2 separate regions of the Homo sapiens genome follow, and region 1 is linked to region 2. Evidence: promoter capture Hi-C in human tissues and cell types (Jung and others, 2019). All regions are on one chromosome and are shown on one strand. The core of a region is centred on a gene start or on the middle of the fragment in contact, and the rest is flanking DNA. Distances in the headings are between cores, read along the strand shown.

What was found. The method cuts DNA at HindIII sites, captures the fragments that hold promoters and counts their contacts. A contact is called where the count stands out against the background at its distance.
Region 1: a fragment that was not itself captured here is called in contact with the fragment with the promoter of LRRC52 in region 2 in 1 of the 25 tissues and cell types used here (pancreas).

The regions. Positions count from the first base shown.
Region 1 is chr1:165,371,869-165,374,568 of GRCh38, forward strand. No RefSeq gene overlaps it. Among named protein-coding and RNA genes, the nearest start is that of LMX1A, 17 kb to the left of the region's middle. The HindIII fragment of the contact is 6,810 bases long and covers 1-2,700 here.
Region 2 is chr1:165,542,656-165,545,355 of GRCh38, forward strand. It overlaps LRRC52 (leucine rich repeat containing 52), which reads left to right and starts at 1,345. Exons shown (of 2, transcript NM_001005214.4): 1 at 1,345-2,263. The coding sequence starts at 1,642. The region is part of intron 3 of LRRC52-AS1 (LRRC52 antisense RNA 1); the gene reads right to left. The HindIII fragment of the contact is 8,196 bases long and covers 1-2,700 here.

The DNA.
Region 1 (2,700 bases), core at 170-2,669, 170 kb before region 2:
CTAATTGGACATAAGGCAAAAGTGAATTACTGGAAAGTCCAGACTATTAAATTTTGTAATAGAATACACTTTGATTACTTTCAAATTCAGGGCACCCTCCTTATTCAACACTCAGACACTTAATATCTCTTTAATTCAATTCAACTGCCAAGAAAAGCCACAAACCCAGAAATAATCAGGAAGTCCTTCAGGCATCAGCAGCAATGAAAGTAGCCAAAAATAGCCCCAAAAGGGAAATCTGCTGAGATTCAGTTATTTTGCTAACCAAAAGAAAGTGCTACTCTCATTGACTGTTCAATGCCTATACAAGTAAAACTTTACCAGCACCCAAGTCAAAAAGAAAAAAAAGGGGAATCAGATACAATAATAACAGTAATAATAACAACTACAACATTAACAACTAATATTTATTGAACACTTAGTACATGACTCTATTCCAATTGCTTTACATGTATTACTTACATAATCTATATAACAACCATATCAGGTATCAGGTATGTGCTATTATTGTCCACATTTTATAGATGATGACACGGAGGTACAGAGAATACAATAATGAAGGTGGAAATAAAAACAAATAACAAGGAACAATCGGGTGGACAGCGATGGCCTATGTCCAGAGAAGTAGAAGTTATAACTTAGATTGGAAATATGCTGTCAATCAAAGCAGATGATGATGGAGAATAGAAGTGGCCAAGAGGGAAGACAAGTCAAATACACCAACTATAGAAAGCCCAGTGCAGAGGTATTCAGTTCTGGGACTCCCCTGTGACTCTACGGTATCACTGTTGTGTTGGTCCGTTTGATAACCAGGGAGTCCGTAAGTCAGCCTTCCCCCATAAAACCTCCACAGTGATTATGAAGACTATAGAGTGCTCAATTTCTTTGAATTTTCACGAACCAGGTATCCAGAATATGACTTGCCTAGAATTCCTAGTCCAGATGTGTTGACAACTCAAATTATTGCAGGACTGGGCTAAATTTTTGGATTGTTATAACCGGCCCATTTATTTTTTGCAAAGAATAACTTTAAAATGCCTTGAATGTTACTTGGCCTCAAGTAGTTTAAGCAATCTCCCTATAACTTTGTTCTCACTGTTCGCTTGCACTATTTTCTTTTTTCAGTGCGAATATGGATTTCAAATTGGAACATTTTTGTATGATCACCAGTTCTGAATTCAGTAGACCCTGGGCTTGTACGTGTGCATATTTTTCTTTCAAATCTGGACCATCCACGATCCTTTGACAATAGCTGCTGCTATCTGGTGTGCAAGCAGAAACTACACATGAAGGTGAGTTTCTCCACTGCTCTGGGGTCACGGGGGGCAGGGACGGGCTGGTAATTTGGAGGTTTAGGGCCAGACAAGTGGTCCTTTTCCGCTCACATGTGAAATCTGTCAGCTCTCAGCCTGGAACTGTAAGCAGAACAAGTGAAACTTCCTAGGTTACCGCAGCTCTTTCCAAGCTGTTCCTGCAGAGCAGGATGGGATGCACAGGCTGTGATTCCTGGGAGATGTCCTAAAAAGCCCCTGAAAGAACCCCTCTTAGCCCACGCCATGTCCGGTCCACAGTGTGTTGGACATTCTTACCTGACACTGATTTTTTCCTCCAGGTTTCATTGAGTAATTTGTAAGGCAGCTCTCAAGAATTATTTCCATTCCCAAATCCATCTTAGTTGTTTTTCTAACTGAGGCTGTGGCCCCAAAGTACCTCACGGAAGCCAAGCCTCTCACTCACACATGCCACAGGTCCCAGCAGCACTTCCGCCTTGAGGCAGACCCCAAGCCTAAAATGTACGCATGAGATCTTGGAGGACACATTTCTGTAGTAAGAATGTATCTCTAACTGCTCCAGGAGCCCAGCTCGGCCTTATCTGTTTCACAGGGTGCTGGAGGGACTCCCCTCTCCAATCACAGGCCAGGACTTCCGGGGTGTCCTCCCACCATCTCTGGCCCCAGCAGAGTTAATTCCAGGCATGGATGTTCAAAGTCTTCATTACCCTGTGATGCCCATATGCACCTAAATGTGGGAACTGACATTTTCCAGACATTTGTGCTCCCTTTTCAAGTGCCGGCGCCCTTAAGAAACGGAACTTGGTGTACCTGCTTTTCCTGTGCGGGTGGCCTAGCAGAGACCAGAGAGAATGGACCTTGTTCCCCGGAGGGCTGCTGCCTCCACAGGGACACCCAAATTATTCCAACCTCCAAAAGGCAAAGCTAAATGAAGTCTTGTATTCAGCCTTTGTTTAAAGATCATGTTCATGAGGTTTTGCATCATTCTAATACTTGTGCATATTATGTAATTCACACAAAGTGAACAATGGTTAAATTTTCAGGAGTAGAACTTAGAGTAAATTTTTCCCTTCCATTTACTTTTTCTGTGAACATATATTTTTAATACCCTTGTATTACCATTAGAAAGCAGAACATCTTTCTTTAATAAAAAGAAACATATAGATTTTGGTTTTGACAGGAGCTGATTCCCTGTGCGTTTTAAAGTTTAAAAATATTTTAATGGCTTATTCCAAGTTTGTGTTATTTAAAAGGTGATATTTACATTTAGCAAATTGACTTACTCTAAAGATTCACCCGATTCAGCTTTGTGCCTGTCTGTCGCCAGACTTGTCCACCTGGGAGGGAGGAGTGGCCTCATCTCTCCCCTTTCTGGCTGTCAGTCACCAGCAGGGCCCAAGCACACAGA
Region 2 (2,700 bases), core at 95-2,594:
AACTTATATTTTAATAGAATTTGTTTTAATTATGAGGAAAGGGTGTCTGCCCTATCAATTAAGTCATGCTTCAATTAGTACAGCTATCATTGGGGTCATTACTTTAAGTATTTGAAATGTCTACTTAAATAAGGTCACTTTCAATTTGGTAAACACGCCTAAGTCATCATATTAATTCACAGCCAGTCACCCAAGGAATGCTGAGTAAGTAAACAATCAAGCATTAGCTAACTAGCCACAAATCCATCTGACTTTATTAATTTCTCTCTTGGCAAAGAAGCAAGAGAAGGAAGCAAACCATCAGAAACATTCTCACATTGTTCATTCACTATACATTTATTACATACCAGGTGCCAGGCACTGTGCTTAGGTTTCAATATGTTACTAATATTCACAACTCAGTATATATGAATGTTTTTAAAAAATGAAATCCAATTTTCCCAAAAATAAAAGTTTCAACTCCTCAGATGTTTTATCTTATTTCTGCCTGATATGCCTTCCTCCACGGGGTGTGTGATACATCCCAACTCTTCAGCTTCCAGGTTTTCTATCCCTCGCTCCAAAAGACTAATCACCTGACAAGTAATTAATGAATATAAACTCACACTAGAAGTACTAGAGAGGCACTCACTATTTTAAAAGTCCTAGGAGAATACGAGTGGTAAAAAAATACTTCTATTGTTGCACTCAGATTTTTTATATATACATTTGGGTTTTGTGTTAGAAGGAGTAGCTTACACTTATTCAAAAACTTTTTAAAAATACACATATATATATATTCAAAATGCAGACAGAGATGTATACATCCTAGGAATAAAGTCTGAAAAGAGTACCACTTTATCAGAGGAATTCCCCTTGCCTCATTTCAAAAGAAACACCCCCTTTCCCATCTTCTTCTGGCAACACTGAAAAACTGGCACCCATCCAAATCAATATCCAAGAAAAGACCCACACTGAGAACTGACCTCAAGCAAGTCACTGCTCATCACTAAGAAAAGGAGTTGGCCTGGAGATGTCCCATGTTCCCTCTATGGCCTGCAGATTAGGGGGTCCAATGTCACCTAATCTACTACAGCTCCATGGGGAGCGGGTACAGATACTATACACATCCACACACTGAACCCAGCCTGGTCTCCAACACACACATGCTGCAGGCCCCTACCCATGAGGCCCCAACTCCCCCAGGGAGTTCCAGCTGGCTTACCAAGACACATAAAACACCCTCACACCACCCAGAAGGAGAGGTGAGGAATCTCTTTCCCTCAGCCAGGCAGTCTCCTGAGGCTGCTGACATCACAAAGGTGTCAACTGGCAACCTCATTGTCATGTGGCTCTCCCCTGGCTCCCCTTCACTTGCAAACGCAGGGAAAGGGTGAGACCTTTCAAAGCTGCCAAGTGGGCAAGCTTCCAGCAGCAGTCTGGGAGCGAGCGACAGAGCCACCAAGCTGGGCGGCAGGGCATTGAGCCTCGCGTTTCAATTTCTGTTCAGTTCTCCTGTAATGGAAAATTGCTTTGCACAAAGCTAAAGTGTTACAGTTCTTTCCAGAGCCCCTCCCCCGCCCCACCCCCCCACCGGCAGCCTTCGGATCAGAGGACAGAGCCCGCAGGAAGGTGAAAGGAGGGTGGTTGTGGCTTCTTACTATGTCCCTTGCTTCAGGCCCTGGCCCTGGGTGGTTACTCTTTTCCTTTGGAATGGGGCTGGTATCAGGGTCAAAGTGTCCAAATAATTGTCTGTGTCAAGCCCAAGAAGTAATCTGCACAGGGAAGCAGTTAACCGAATACCCCCTTGACATACCCCTGAACACCCGGAGGCTGTTCCTGAACGAGAACAGAATCACTAGTTTGCCAGCAATGCATCTAGGACTCCTCAGTGACCTTGTTTATTTGGACTGTCAGAACAACCGGATTCGAGAGGTGATGGATTATACCTTCATCGGGGTCTTCAAACTCATCTACCTTGACCTCAGCTCCAACAACCTAACCTCGATCTCCCCATTCACTTTCTCGGTGCTCAGCAACCTGGTGCAGCTGAACATTGCCAACAACCCTCACCTGTTATCGCTTCACAAGTTCACCTTTGCCAACACCACCTCTTTGAGGTACCTGGACCTCAGAAATACCGGCTTGCAGACCCTGGACAGTGCTGCCTTATACCACCTCACTACTCTGGAGACCCTGTTTCTGAGTGGAAACCCCTGGAAGTGCAACTGCTCTTTCCTGGACTTCGCCATCTTCTTAATAGTGTTCCATATGGACCCCTCAGGTGAGGGCTTGATTGGGTGTGGGGAAGAGGATGTGATTGAAGTGGCTCCAGAAAAGGTGAACTCAAAAGATGGTCAGAATGGGAGAAAAAGTTGGGTGAAGCTGATTGAATGCATTCTTATTACTCTGCAGGGCCCACCCTTGGGTTGACTGGAGTAGCAGTAAGAAAAAGTTCTGAAATAGGAATTCAAAGAGCTGAGTTCTGGTCCCAAACTCAGCACTTACCAGTTGGCTACCCTTGAAAATGTCACCATTTCTCTGAGCCTCAGTTTTCTAATCCATAAAGTGGGGACAATAATATTACCTAAGGCACAGAGTTGCATCAAATATATGATGTGTGTAGAAATGATGAAGTACTCTAATTGCAAAGTGACAAGGTAATATAGGGACACTGTATTCTGTTGGTAAACTGTTTTAATCTGTTTAATTCAGCAACTG